Regions from separate parts of the Homo sapiens genome. Here all the other regions are linked to region 5. The links are contacts of gene promoters, found by promoter capture Hi-C in human tissues and cell types (Jung and others, 2019). All regions are on one chromosome and are shown on one strand. The core of a region is centred on a gene start or on the middle of the fragment in contact, and the rest is flanking DNA. Distances in the headings are between cores, read along the strand shown.

Evidence for each region. Contacts are between HindIII fragments. The study calls those that stand out against the background at their distance.
Region 1: a contact is called between a fragment that was not itself captured here and the fragment with the promoter of CRYL1 in region 5, in 2 of the 25 tissues and cell types used here (heart right ventricle and spleen).
Region 2: a fragment that was not itself captured here is called in contact with the fragment with the promoter of CRYL1 in region 5 in 1 of the 25 tissues and cell types used here (mesenchymal stem cells).
Region 3: a contact is called between a fragment that was not itself captured here and the fragment with the promoter of CRYL1 in region 5, in 2 of the 25 tissues and cell types used here (heart left ventricle and thymus).
Region 4: a contact is called between a fragment that was not itself captured here and the fragment with the promoter of CRYL1 in region 5, in 1 of the 25 tissues and cell types used here (mesenchymal stem cells).

Annotation. Positions count from the first base shown.
Region 1 is chr13:20,960,671-20,963,630 of GRCh38, reverse strand. It overlaps the pseudogene RPSAP54. Among named protein-coding and RNA genes, the nearest start is that of LINC00367, 13 kb to the right of the region's middle. The HindIII fragment of the contact is 5,622 bases long and covers 1-2,960 here.
Region 2 is chr13:20,226,837-20,229,917 of GRCh38, reverse strand. GJB6 (gap junction protein beta 6) reads left to right here. Exons shown (of 5, transcript NM_001110219.3): 4 at 169-338. Among named protein-coding and RNA genes, the nearest start is that of GJB6, 3.9 kb to the left of the region's middle. The HindIII fragment of the contact is 5,423 bases long and covers 1-3,081 here.
Region 3 is chr13:20,139,616-20,142,531 of GRCh38, reverse strand. GJA3 (gap junction protein alpha 3) reads left to right here. Exons shown (of 2, transcript NM_021954.4): 2 at 1-2,916. The coding sequence ends at 551. Among named protein-coding and RNA genes, the nearest start is that of GJA3, 20 kb to the left of the region's middle. RefSeq lists an enhancer at 471-972. The HindIII fragment of the contact is 4,756 bases long and covers 1-2,916 here.
Region 4 is chr13:20,110,480-20,113,516 of GRCh38, reverse strand. All of the region lies in intron 1 of LOC105370101 (a long non-coding RNA gene), which reads left to right. Among named protein-coding and RNA genes, the nearest start is that of LINC01072, 9.3 kb to the right of the region's middle. The HindIII fragment of the contact is 5,033 bases long and covers 1-3,037 here.
Region 5 is chr13:20,524,465-20,527,181 of GRCh38, reverse strand. It overlaps CRYL1 (crystallin lambda 1), which reads left to right and starts at 1,325. Exons shown (of 8, transcript NM_015974.3): 1 at 1,325-1,428. The coding sequence starts at 1,388. RefSeq lists an enhancer at 810-919 and a silencer at 1,100-1,649. The HindIII fragment of the contact is 16,444 bases long and covers 1-2,717 here.

The DNA of each region.
Region 1 (2,960 bases), core at 311-2,810, 440 kb before region 5:
AGATTTTTGGAGCATTTCAAATTTCAGATTTTCGGATTTGGGATACTCAACCCATGTAACTTTGGGTAAGTTCAAACTCATGTTGGATTTAGTAGCTACAATGGGGGCAGAGGGAATCTGAATAGGTTAATCTTCAGAGTTGGTGGTTTCTAAGAACTTGGGGGATGCTGGGGTTGAGCTGTGCTCTTATTCTATTAATACATAGATTTTCCTGGGGGGAAAAAGCATTCCGCTAACAAAACAAGTTTGAAAACCATGGTTTTGATGATTGGTATGTCTTTTTTGTTTAAATTTTTTTTTAATTTTATAAACATAATAAATATACAGTTTTTTCAAGTTAGATTACTAAAAAAAAGTAGTCTCTGTGCATCCCTTGCCATTTCCTGCTCTGCAAACACAAACACTCTCATCTCTTCAGAGTTATTTCTTCTGGCATCTTCACTATAGGCATTTATTGATATTTCTTGATTTACTTATTTTAAATATTTTATATTATCTTCATATTGTGGTCATTCTCTTTTTTTTTTTTTTTTTTTTAATGAGACGGAGTCTCGCTCTGTCACCCAGGCTGAAGTGCAGTGGTACGATCTCCGGCTCACTGCAAGCTCCGCGTCCCGGGTTCGCGCCATTCTCCTGCCTCAGCCTCCCGAGTAGCTGGGACTACAGGCACCCACCACCACGCCCGGCTAATTTTTTGTATTTTTAGTAGAGATGGGGTTTCACCGTGTTAGCCAGGATGGTCTCGATCTTCTGACCTCATGATCCGCCTGCCTCGGCCTCCCAAAGTGCTGGGATTACAGGCGTGAGCCACCGCGCCCAGCCTGTGTTCATTCTCTTATATTCCCTGCCCCAAGTTCATTTCCCTATGTAGTTCTATCACAATTTTTAGTTAAGTCAGTTGTCAGTGTAAATATTATTGACTATGCTAAAGTACTCTTTGAGCCAAATCATAGATTGTGATTATAGTTTCTCATTTGTACAAAATTTGTTTCCTCTTGGACTTTTTACCTTATTTCTTATATATTTTTTTTTTTTTTGAGATGGTGTGTCTTGCTCTGTTGCCCAGGCTGGAGTGCAATGGCACAATCTCAGCTCACCACAACCTCCGATTCCCAGGTTCAAGGGATCCTCCTGCCTCAGACTCCCAAGTAGCTTGGATTACAGGCGCCCACCACCACGCCTAGCTAATTTTTTTGTATTTTTTAGTAGAGACAGTGTTTCTCCATGTTTGTCAGGCTGGTCTCAAGCTCCTGACCTCAGATAATCCACCTGCCTCAGCCTCCCAAAGTGCTGGGATTACAGGTGTGAGCCACTGCGCACGGCCTCCCTTATTTCTTTCATTTGCTTTGTTTTCTTTTTTTTTTTTAGAAACTGATGTTTATTTTCCATCAACCATTTTTCCATGCTGCTTAAGAGCCTATGCAAGAACAGCTTAAGACCAGTCAGTGGTTGCTCCTACCCATTCAGTGGCCTGAACAGTGGGAGCTGCAGACCAGTCTTCCGTGGCAGGCTGAGCGCTCCAGTCTTCAGTAGGGAACTGCTGAATAGGCACAGAGGGCACCTGCACACCTTCAGACCAGTCTGCAACCTCAGGCTGAGTAGCAGTGAACTCAGGAGCTGGAGCAGTCCATTCACCCTGAAATTCCTCCTTGGTCACCGCCTTTTCAGCAGCAGCCTGCTCTTCTTTTTCAATCTCTTCAGGATCTCTGTAGAAGTAGAGATCAGTCATGACCTCCCATGGGTGTTCACGAGAAATGGTGCCACGCATGCGCAGAACTTCCCGAGCCAGCATCCACCACATCAAACCCACTGAGCGAGCTCCCTTGTTGTTGCATGGGATGGCAATGTCCACATAGCGCAGAGGAGAATCTGTTACACAGAGCAATGGTAGGTAGGTTAACATAAGACGCCTCCGTGAGAGGCTGGTGGGTCAGCCCTGGGGTCAGTAACCACAAGAAGCCGTGGCTCCCGGAAGGCTGCCTGGATCTGGTTAGTGAAGGTTCCAGGAGTGAAGCGGCCAGCAATTGGAGTGGCTCCAGTGGCCGCAGCAAACTTCAGCACAGCCCTCTGGCCAGTATTCCTGGAGGATATAACACTGACATCAGCAGGGTTTTCAATGGCAACAATAGCACGAGCTGCCAGCAGAAGCTTCTCCCAGGTCTTCTTCAGATTTATGATATAGATGCCATCACTTTTCCTTTTATAGATGTACTGTTCCATCTGGAAGTCAAGATTGGTGCCACCTAAGTGGGTTCCTGCTGCAAGGAACTTAAGGACATCCTCCTCCTTCATTTGCAGGACATCAAGGGCTCCGGACATTGTGAAAGTTTCCCTTTAAGTTACGACCGGAATCCAGAACAACGCCCTATGGACCCCTCTGTAGGTAGCGCGGAAAAGCGCTTTGTTTTCTTTGAACCTACAGAGGTTTTTTTCTTTCTATTTTCTGCAGTGGATCTGTCAAACACCAGGCTGTTTGTTTCCTGGACAGCAAATGCCGTCCGCCCTCTCCTGCAGTCTGGACTGGCAGCTCTCCAAACCTGACAGACAGCTGTCACCTTGGGAGTTCTCTTTGTCACTTTCCTGTATTGGAGTGCATTTTTGTCAAATGCTGTATCTTCCTTTTTCGTGATTTGCTCTTGGAAACATTTTGAGTTCTTGCTTGTATGAAAATGTTCCTCTTCTACTTGACTGAAAATATGAGAGGGCATAAAGTTCTAGGATAAAAACTAGCCCTGCATTTTGAAGTTACCAGTGCTTTACTTACCTGCTTCCAGTGCTTCTGTGCGAGTCGAATGCTGTCCTGACTCTCAAGCCTGTGTGAGCGATCCCCCCGCTCTTTTTTTTCTAGAAGCAGTTAGGATCGTTTCTGTATACCCAGTATTGTACATTTCATGATGATGTTCCTTGATACAGTTTGTTTTCATTTATTGTACTCATCACTCTCAAAGCTTTCAACCTAG
Region 2 (3,081 bases), core at 1-2,500, 300 kb after region 5:
TTCAAAGCATAGAGCATCAGGAAGCTGGCAATTTCTGAACTTACCTCATAACAGTTCTGGGAATGAAGAAAAACTACCCACAAAGTTTATTCAGGGGACATATTGCGGGGGGCGGGGGGGGGGGGAGTTAAAGGAATATGGCAACAGCTACTATTTTTCCCTCAACAGGCGACATCCTCACTGACCGAGCAAAGATTGACATTCGTATCATCACTGTGCACCATTGGCTTCTAGGCACTCCAGTGGGGTAGGAGAAGGAGGTCTGAAACCCTCGCAGAGGGATCTTGCCCTCATTCTTTGGGTCTGAAACACTGGCAGTCGTTGGAAACAGGACTCAGGTTTGCTTGTTTTGCTTTGATATTGTTTTCCTTTTATCTATGCAGACTCCCCGACTATCCAAAGCTAACTTCGAAATTGGGAGGCACATGTTCCTGTTCTCAGATCTATCAACTACTCCCTAGATGGCCAGGCGCGATGGCTCATGCCTGTAATCCCAACACTTTGGGAGGCCGAGGCTGAGGTCAGGAGTTCAAGACCAGCCTGACCAAGGTGGCAAAACCCTGTCACTACTAAAAAAAAAAAAAAAAAAAAAAAAAAAAAAATTAACCAGGTATGGTGGCATATGCCTGTAGTCCCAGCTATTCAGGAGGCTGAAGCACAAGAATCACTAGAACCGGGGAGGCAGATGTTGCAGTGAGCTGAGATTGCACCATTGCACTCCACCCTGGGCAACAGGGCAAGACTCTGTCTAAAAAAAAAAAAAAAAATTTTTTTTTTTTTTTTTTTTTTTTTTTGCTAAATGACATTGAAAGGGGAACAGAGCTATCTAGAAAAATATGCTGAGGGGTTACACTCTAACTTTGGGGGCTTTAGTTTTGGTTCTGTCATTAGTGAAATTATAATGGCATAGATAAATAAGCTAGTTGTGATTAATTTCCTAAGAAGTTTTAAAACAATCAAGAAATTTCATTAGTGCAGTCAAATGCCAATAGATCTAAATTATTTGAATTGTAAAAGGAAAGAACAACCTATCTTCACAATGCTGTGTGGATCCTCAAAAGTAAAGTCCATGGTTTACTTATTTTTAGAGCTAGATATTTCAGACTGGAGCTTTAGTATCAAGAATATAGCATGGGCCGGGCGCGGTGGCTCATGCTTGTAATCCCAGCACTTTGGGAGGCCAAGGGGGGCGGATCATGAGGTCAGGAGATCGAGACCATCCTGGCTAACACGGTGAAACCCCGTCTCTACTAAAAATACAAAAAATTAGCCGGGCTTGGTGGCAGGCGCCTGTAGTCCCAGCTGCTCAGAGAGGCTGAGGCGGGAGAACGGCGTGAACCCGGGAGGCGGAGCTTGCAGTGAGCCGAGATCGTGCCACGGTACTCCAGCTTGGGCAACAGAGCTAGACTCCATCTCAAAAAAAACAAAAAACAAAAACAAAAAACAAAAACAAACAAACAAGAAAAAACAGCATCGAGTTCTTCACTATGATTACATTTACTACAAAACCGAACACAGTTTACCTTTTTAAGTTTAAATGTAATCACATTCTTAGAAGTTGAAGACTGCAGAAGCTAAGCGTATCTATTCTTTCCTTAAAAGACAGCCAGAGAGGCATCAGTTAAAATGAACCTCTCTGGTTTCCGAAGAAAGAGTTAATATTTCACTTTGTATTGAAAAAGCTCCTCCCATTGGCTCCAGCCCTCCAGAAGCAGGAGAGGAAAGAGGTACTTTGTTTACTACAGTTGCAAAGGGTCCCAGTGGATGCGATGATTTTGGAAAGTAATTTGAAATTAGTGACGACTTCACAAATTGAAATAGCCTTCAAATCTTCTCCAACCAAGAGGGTTTGTGAAAGATTATGCCCTGTGGTTATGTGTTTTTACAAGGGAGAACCTGGGGGCTGGGCGCTTTCTTTGCCACCCCCAACCCACAACATCCTTCCTCTGGGCCCCTCTGCAGTCTGTCCACCCACCCTGTCCACCCACCAAAGTCAGGACAGGAGCAGTCAGTGGAGTTGAGTCCTCCTTAAAACTTGCTGAGTCTCCTGCGTTTACTGCCATCCTCCCACCGCTCCTTGAATGGGAGCGTCTCCTGGGGCAGCCAGGCCTGGCCAGTAATGGCAGCAATGTGCTGGAAATTTGGGGGCTTGATAACCCGCAGCTGACCCATCACCCTGGCCTATCTCTTGACACTTGCGAGGGGAGCTCTCTTCTCCCTGGCTGTTGGCCTGCAGAGAATGATACGCACGGCAGATCCCCGGAGCTGGTTGGTGAGCCCCTCAGGTGTGACACAACCTGGAAAAGAATGGAAAGAGCCACTGTCTCACTGTCTCAGTTGGGAAACACCAGCTCAGGGTCACTGAGCACCCAGGGGCAGCCCACTCAGGACCGGGCAGGTTCGGAGAGAGGACACAGCTTCTCCCTTGGATCACTTCTGCTGTTAGGAATAACAGGGCCTTTGTGGCTCTTGCAGGAGGACACTCTGAACCAGGAGACTGTCCTGAGTGACCGGGGAGTTAGACACACTTGTATTGGATTTAACCTCATTTTTCTCAGCAAGCTCGGCATCTCCTTTACTTTTCTTCCTTTAAAGGCATAGGTGGATTGCCAATTTTTAGTACCGGTATCGAGAAGCGCGCATTGTGAAACAGATTATATTCTGTTCAGTTTTGCTATGTTGATAGAACACCCTCAGACCGTGTGGCTTGGGGACCCAGAAAAATCCAAAGAAATTTAAAAAGCTACTGCCCTTATAATTGTCCCTGTTTTTAGAAAAAAAAAACAGGGAGAAGCCCAAAGCTGCAGAGGTCAGGGACCCTGCTTCTAGAAAGCGTGGACCAGTGTTCCTGGGGGGGAGTTGTGACCTCTTGACCTTTTCTGTGACTTTAGCCTCTCAGAATCATCCAGGCCATGTCCCCCTCTGGCTCCCTGATCTGTTTACTTCCTAGAAGGTTGGACCACAGGGGACCACGGGGTGCCGTTGTTCAGGCAGGCCACGGGCTAGAGAACCGAGAGAACACAGCTGTCTCACCTGCTGGGGAGGTTAAATTCTATGGACTTTGAAGTGTTGGAGAAAATG
Region 3 (2,916 bases), core at 1-2,500, 380 kb after region 5:
CGCCCCTGCCCCCCAGCTCCCGGCCGCCCGCCGTTGCCATCGGGTTCCCACCCTACTATGCGCACACCGCTGCGCCCCTGGGACAGGCCCGCGCCGTGGGCTACCCCGGGGCCCCGCCACCAGCCGCGGACTTCAAACTGCTAGCCCTGACCGAGGCGCGCGGAAAGGGCCAGTCCGCCAAGCTCTACAACGGCCACCACCACCTGCTGATGACTGAGCAGAACTGGGCCAACCAGGCGGCCGAGCGGCAGCCCCCGGCGCTCAAGGCTTACCCGGCAGCGTCCACGCCTGCAGCCCCCAGCCCCGTCGGCAGCAGCTCCCCGCCACTCGCGCACGAGGCTGAGGCGGGCGCGGCGCCCCTGCTGCTGGATGGGAGCGGCAGCAGTCTGGAGGGGAGCGCCCTGGCAGGGACCCCCGAGGAGGAGGAGCAGGCCGTGACCACCGCGGCCCAGATGCACCAGCCGCCCTTGCCCCTCGGAGACCCAGGTCGGGCCAGCAAGGCCAGCAGGGCCAGCAGCGGGCGGGCCAGACCGGAGGACTTGGCCATCTAGTGCCCGGGTGCCTGCCTCCAGACAGCTGTGTAGTGATCTTTTTCTTAGAAACCAAAACCAAAGTGCACTTCCCACCAGCAGATAGAACCTGAAAGTCCCAGGAGGTGGGAGCGACTGGAGTCCCAGGAGGTGGACGATGGAGGAGAGATCAGGTTTCCGTGTTCAATGCTTGCTGTTCTTAGCACTGTGAGTTACAGTGGGGATAACTCCCACTTTCTGAGTTTGGGGGTGGCGGGGACAAGGGTTGTGGGCCTTTAAGATCTTCACAGCAGCCCAGAAATCTGGTCGCTGAGGGCTGTCTCTGGGGGTAACTGTTCTGTAGTGGTAAAGCAACAGGTATCCTGCAGTCCCTTTAGCTCCTGGGCAATTGGGTTTGCTATTCCTAAGCTCTCCAGAGCCTCTGGGCGGCCCAGAGGGTCTTAGCTCTGGGCCAGAGCACTTAGCTCTATCTCTTTGATACTTTTAACTTAGAGTTGAATTTCATTTGGGATATTTGCCAAACTGCACTAAAAAAAGATTTACAGCAAGTCTATGTAGTGTCATTTGAGTTTCCGAAATTGCATGTGAAGCCCAGGATATCAAGCTTCAGGCCTCATGACAAGTGACAAAGAGCAGTTGCCCTCCAGAGGCAGGCTCAGTGGGCAAGGGCCCCAGAGGTTGCTGGCAGAAGGCAGGTGGAAACGCAGCCACGCCTGAGGCCATTTTTAAACAGTTGAGGAAATTGACATAAAAGTGTGTCGGGTATGCCGTAGGTATTTATTTTCTAAATGATTATTTTGTGCTTTGAATGGTGCAGCTATGCCTATTTTCTCCCACTTTCTTTCAGGAAAAATGAAAGAAAAATAGTGTTTTTCTTTCTTTAAATACTGTTAGAATGATTGCTGACCAAGACAGTGCTAATTTGCCCTAATGCATGCTACTAGCATCTTTACTAAAGATTTTGAACTTTCTTGTAAAAGAAATTCTTTAATTTCATGAGTCACCTAATTATAATGAGAATGTATTATATAAAACAAAAGCAGGGGAAAGTTTTAAGTGCATTCAAATAGAAGTTCTGAAGATTTTGAATGGGAAGTGAAAAGTGAACTACTGTTGCCAGGAAAATTATTTATACAGATGAATCTATGACAATCTACACTTTTAAAAAGTACAGAATAAAACACTTCAAGCTTCCTAATCATTCTTTGTGGGCAGCCTGTTTGCTTTCTCCAGTGTAAATAATATAAGTGTCTGGGGATCCCTGCCTGGGGGAGGGCGCGTGCTCATGCAGGCTGTATGCCCCATTCTGCCTCCACACCAGAGCTGTCCTGACAGGGAAGGCTATTTATGTGTGTGGGCATGGCTGGAAGACGGCAGAATTTTCTGTCCTGCACACACAGCTGTAGTATCTTGGTCACCATTTGTTTATAAAATGAACGATGGTCATGTTGAGCCTGTTTCTACTCACACTTTTCACCTCCAACTTCTACTGAGTATCATTAGCCCTTGTTCAGCGAGACCAATGTAATACATTTCTTTTTATAAATTAACTTCTCGATGATGCATTTGGGACCACACTCCAAACATACTTTCTGTTTTCTATCATAAAGGGTGCTCCACTAACAATCTGATGAAAGGAATGCAATTTCCAAGTCTCAGATTCTTGCATGCAACTAGTTTTTCATGTCAGTCAAACACAAAGAATTTGTTAGTACATTCTGCTTGCTGTAGGATGCACTGGACAGGCTCCTAGGCTTGAAAAATGCTAACTTTTCCATACGTCTCCTCAGAGACTTTCTCAACCAGATTGACAAGAGAGAAATTAGCCCTTTGGAAAACTGTGAGTGACTTTCTCACTCCTCTCCAGGCTGGTGCATAACTACAGCCATTCTAGATGCATAACTTCTCTCCGAAGTTCACTCATTACATGCAGTGTATGCCATAGGCCTAGGGCAGCAGGACTTAGTTCTTGTGAGTGATAAGGGCTGCTAGAAGATCCTAGTGTGAGAAGCATTCCGATAAAAAGCTTTGGCCATTTTAGAAAATGCAATAGCAATCATCCAAGAGCACAAGTACAGCTCAAGTACAAGTGGATGTCAATACTTGGTTCTTTAAGTTCTACCATAATAAATGTTCATAACAGTAACAAGCTTCTTATTTACCCACAATTTGATTTTGAGTGGGGTTGGAGATGAGCATGAGAACTCAAATTGTATCTAGTTTTTACATTTTAAAATTGAATTTAGTCACAATATGTTTATGGAAATGCCAGTATTGTACCATTGACCATAGTCTAGTGGGTCCATTTAGAGTGGATAGGAGTGTAGAATTAGATTCACCTACTTGAAAATCACTAATCTATAAAGAAGTGAGGTTTTGCAATAGA
Region 4 (3,037 bases), core at 263-2,762, 410 kb after region 5:
GTAGGAAGCACTATTATTAGTAATACAGATGTTGGGCCCTTTCTCATGCTCTGATCTGCTTTCTAGGCTGATTTAGAATACAGATGTGCATTCCATTGTCCCCCCTCACCAGCCGCTCAGGTCTTCCAAGAACAGTGTTTTCTCCAGGGTGGGCCCAGGGGCTGTGCAGGTAGAGGCCTTGCTGCTCCTGTGTCCTCTCTCCCTGCCTCTGTCTCTCCCTCTTCCTTCCCTTCTCCTGTTCCTAGCTTTCTGTCAACTCTTCTGCTCCCATCATCAGAGTTGAGATGCAGTGCGGTAGAGTCCAGGAACATGGGCTTCGGACCTGAAAGCCCCACATTTGAATTCGAGCTCTTGGACGTGATCTAACGTCTCCAGGTTTTGTTTTTTCCTCATAAAATGCACAGGGATAATAACCGCACCTGCTGGGGTGTCACGGGAACCAAATGCCCCAACACCTGCGAAGGTGGGGGCAGAGCCGCCTCATGTTTAAGGGCCCCCTCCATCCTGGCTCTCCGCTTACTCAGTGTGTGGACTTGGACGTGACATTGAAAAGTTCTGTGTTTCCCTTCCTTCAGCTGTCAACTAGAGTTTCATACTTCATGACGGTGTGGTGAGATTGGTACTCAGAAAACATGCAAAATGGTGATACAAATTATATAAAATACAAACACAAATTATAAAAAATACAAATGATACAAATCAAAAATGCACAGACAAGATATAGTTTCAGGTTTAGCCAGACACAGTGGCTCACACCTGTAATCCCAGCACTTTGGGAGGCCAAGGCAGACGGATCACTTGAGGTCAGGAGTTCGAGACCAGCCTGGCCAACACAGCAAAACCCTGTCTGTACTAAAAATACAAAAATTAGTTGGGTGTAGTGGCAGGTGTCTGTAATCCCAGCTACTCGGGAGGCTGAGGAAGGAGAATCGCTTGAACCTGGGAGGCAGAGGTTGTGGTAAGCGGAGATCGCGCCATCGCACTCCAGCCTGGGCAACAAGAGCGAAACTCTGTCTCAAAAAACAAACAAACAACAACAACAACAACAACAACCACCAAGAATTTCCCAAGTTCTAACACCAGTGCCTCTTCTGACTTGCCATGTTATTTTCAGAGTCAGCCACTTCACATGGCAGGATCTCATTTCCATAAATGGTGGGGATTGGGAGGACGGGGAATGTTGGCTTTACTGCCTACAGGTGGAAAGGGGACCTAGCGAAGACCTCCATGCCCATCTGTGCTCCAGGTAGGCTGGGACTGAATCTGCCTGGACCACGGCTTACCATGCAGTAGGCACTTAATGGTGATCAAATGCATGAATGAATGAATGAATGAAACATTGGATTCTGGCTGAAACTTCATCTGACACAGATTGGAGCATCAGAGAAAAGTTTAGTCCTTTGCCAGGGCTGGAGAATTCTGTTTTTTTTTTAATTATTTTTTATTTATTTATTTATTTATGAGCCAGGGTCTCACTCTGTCATCCAGGCTGGACTGCAGTGGTGCTACCATGGCTCACTGCAACCTCCCGGGCTCAACGGATCCCCCCACCTCAGCCTCCCGAGTAGCTGATACCACAGGTGCGTGCCACCGTGCCCGGCTAATTTTTCGTATTTTTGGTAGAGATGAGGTTTGCCATGTTGCCCAAGCTTGTCTCAAACTCCTGAGCTCAAGCGATCCACCCACCATGGACTCCCAAAGTGCTGGGATTACAGGTGTGAGCCACCGTACACGGCCATTTTTTTTTTTTTTTTTTAAGAGACAAGGTCTCTCTCTGTCACCCAGGCTGGATTGCAGCGGCACGATCACTGCAGCCTTGACCTCCTGGGCAAAAACAATCCTCCTGCCTGGAACTCTCAAGTAGTTGGGACTACAGGCGTGTGTCCTGAATTCCTGGTTTTAAGTGATCCTCCCACCTTGGCCTCCCAAGTTTTGGGATTACTTGGTGTGAGCCCCTGTGCTTGGCTTCTTGTTTTTCTTTTTCTTTTCTTCTCTCTCTCTCTTTTTTTTTTTTTTTTTACTTTTCCCACATTTGTATGCCAAATGTGTATGTAGTCATTACCACAATCAAATCAAGAACATTTCTGTCACCCCGAAAGTTTCCCTGTGCTCCTTGTCAATTCTCCTTCACTGTCAGGCCCAGGCAATCACTGACCTGCTTTTGGGCACTATCACCTTTTTGGAACCTCATGTAAGTGGGACTATACTGTATGGACTCCTCTGTGGCTGCCTTTTTCACTCAACTCATGTTTCCAAGATTTATCTCTGCCGCCGCAGGCTGCAGTCCTGTGTCCCTTTTCATTGCTGGGAGTCCCATTGTGTGCACATTCACCTGCTCACGAGCTTTTGGGTAGTACATTACTCAGGGCTCTCCAGAGAACAGGATTAATAGGATGCAGCTGGGTAGGTGGCTAGACGGAGATTTATTCTAAGGAAGTGGCTCATGTGATTATGGAGGCTGGAGACCCAGGAGAGCCAATGTTGTCATTCTAGTCCGAAGGCCGGTAGGCTTCAAACCCAGGAAGACCTGATATTTCAGCTGGAATCTGAAATCAGGGAAAAAACCACTGTCCCTGCTTGAAGGCAGTCAGGCTGGAGGAATTTCCTCTTGCTGGCAGGAAGGCCAGGCCAGCCTTCGATCTCTTCAGGCCTTCAGCTGACTGGCAGGGTGGGGTCACGTCAGGGAGGCCGTCTGCTTCACACACCTGACCTCAGATCCAAATGTTCATCTCATCCAGAGACACCCACACACACACCCAGGATCAGGTTCCAACAAATGTCTGGGCACCCCTTGGCCCAGTTGAGTTGACACATAACATTGGCCATCACAATTTGGACCAGCGTGAGCATTTTTACAAGACTGTGGAGACGCATGTTGTCAGGTCTAAGAGTGCAGTGATTGAGCTGTATGGCAAGTGCATATGTAACTTTTTAAGTAAACTGTAAACTGTTTGCCAGACGGGGTTGTACCGTTTTACACTCCCATCAGCAGAGTAGGAGAGTTTCAGGTAGAACTGCCTAATTCTTGGCAAACAAA
Region 5 (2,717 bases), core at 76-2,575:
TTTTTAATTTTTTGGTAGAGACAGGGGTCTCGCTTTGTTGCCCAGGCTGGTCTTGAACTCCTGGCCTCAAGCTATTATTTACTACTCAGCTTCCCAAAGCGCTGGGATTTCAGGCATGACTTTGCAGGGAGCAGCAAACAAGCCAGTCTGCTGCCCCCATAGCCTCCGGTAGTGAGCAGTCACAGGATGCTCACTCCCTGGGTGCCTTGATTATTATATTGGCTGCCTGTGTAACTGACTACAGAAACTGCTCCATCAGAAGATGGAAGCTTTGGAGCCTTGTATTCTCAGCCAGAGCAGGCGCGGTTGCTCAGGCTAGCGGCTGTCTCAACAATGTACTGTAACATTCCCTCCAAAAAGTCCTCAACATTTAAGCTTGCCTTCTACTGTGTGTAAGTTGCATGTCCGAAACACTCCATTACGGATATGGGAATATAATCAATCCATGTGACTTAGCCAATCTGATGAGTGAGAGATGACTTATCTTCCTTGTGTTACTTTTCATTTCTCTTGAGGTTGAATACTTTACAAATATTTATCGATAATTTGTGAAACTGTTCTTTAAAAAACAAAACAAAACAAAAAAACCTAACCCCTCCCCTGAGATTTCTCTTTCCACGTTCCTGACTCAGGGGAAACAAAGGAAGACTTCCTTTTATCATCTCAGTGTTGGCTGCGGTTCCAGCTTGAGTACTGTCTCCTCTGTCTAATGACTGTGTCATTTCCCGTTCAGCTTGTGCTGTGTGGACGCACACCACTGTCAGGCAATGTGTGATGCCCCTTCCTCTTGGTCTGTTCCGGGCTCCAAGAAGGCCAGGAGTCAGGGCACGAGGGCATTTCCTTTTTCTGATACATAAACCGAGTGCAGAGTGTGCTCCGTGGAGGAATTCAGACGTGTCCTTCCGTAGCGCAGATGAACGCATCAGGTGTTCTCTTTCACTGCTGTCGCAGTCCCTGCGCCCAGTTCGCAGTTGGCGGCAGCGGCAGGCGTCTTTCAGAGACGAATTAGCAAAGGGGACATTCTCTGACAGTTTCTCTAGGGTGCTTTAGCGCTAGAGCCCGTGCCAGCCTGCCCGTGTCCCCTCCTATAGACACGGACTTCACGGTGAATGCTGACAGTCACAAGCGCGTGGTCTTCCCGCTTTCCACCCCCCGACGTGCCCCCGCGCTGGTCCTGCCCCTGCCCACGAGGGTCGGCGCGCCGTGTGTCTCCCGGTGTCTCGGGCCCGCGGCGCGCACCCCACTCAGGGACCAAGCGGCCCTCCCCGCCCTCCCGGTCCGCGCGCGCAGCCAATGGGCGCGGGACCCGCCCTCCCCGGAGCCCAGAGCTCGCAGCTCCGCCGGCGCCTGGTCCCAGCGCCCGCGGCGCCGCGTCCCCGGCCCAACCATGGCGTCCTCCGCGGCCGGCTGCGTGGTGATCGTTGGCAGGTAAAGGGCTCCGAGCCGCGCTGCTGCCCCTGGAGCCCGGGGAGACGCCGGGGACGTGGTGCCCTCGCGTGGGGCCCTCGGGGTGGGCGCCGGGTCGCTGTCCCCGCCCCGGCCTCCGGTCCTCCGAAGCCCTGCGCCCTGCGGCCCCTACGGCGCTGGCGGGCTCGGGGAGAGGCGCGGCTGGAGGGGCTTGGCAGGTGGAGGCGCCCCGCGGAGTTGGGTCTGCTTCCCGGGAGCCAGCGTTGCAGGAGGTTCCGAGGTTGACCGCCCAGGCCGCGGGGCCTGCGGTTCCTGGACTCTGTTGAATGTCGCCGCGTCTGCCCGCAGGTCCACATAGAAGTGCCAGGCACCGTGTTGAATGAAACGAATTCTGGCTGCGATCCTGCGACGACTGTGTTCTCATCCCCATTTTACGAATGAGAATACTGAGACTAAGCAGTTTACCTAAGGTCACAGGCGTTTAGTGACGGAGACAGGACTAGCCCAGCAGGGAGGGTGCCAGCGCAGTCCTGTCGGCGACGATGTCGCTGGAGGCCGCAGCAGGTGTTAGGCGAACATACACGCAGTCCTAATTCCTGGGCGAGGCGATGTTTCCAGAGGGGAGGTGGGGGCCGATGGAGCCCAGAGAGTTTGCTAAGTGTGTCCATTTAACAGCTTAAATTCTGCCCAAACTGATTTTTAGTGTGTGCTTCCCCCACCCCGCCCCCCACCCCTACGGTTACAATCCTTGCTATTTTTGTTTTTTAAAAAGGGGCATTTGTATGTACCTTTCTTTGGCCAGCTGTTAGCAGCAATCTATAAACATGTTAATACTTGCTATTGATAGTTAAAAGCACCTTTTTGGTGACTGCTGTTGAGGTGTTGGCCTGCCCCCGACTCCGCCCCCCATCAGTGTACAACCCGGTGTGGAGACCACTTCCAATGTCAGGGTGTTTCCTTCCCACTGAAGGAAGGCATCAGATTCCTTGTTGTCAGCTTTCTTTTCTCCAGAGCAGTGGAGTTAACTGTGCCTTTGTTCTTTCTGGCCCATGAGTGCCCGTGGTTGAATAGTGAAGGCATATTAAAAAGTGCACTTTGGGCCGCGCGCGGTGGCTCACCCCTGTAATCCCAGCACGTTGGGAGGCCGAGGCAGGCGGATCATCTGAGGTCGGGAGTTCGAGACCAGCCTGACCAATATGGAGAAACTCCGTCTCTACTAAAAATACAAAATTAGCCGGGCGTAGTGGCACATGCCTGTAGTCCCAGCTACTCGGGAGGCTGAGGCAGGAGAATCCTTTGAACCCGGGAGG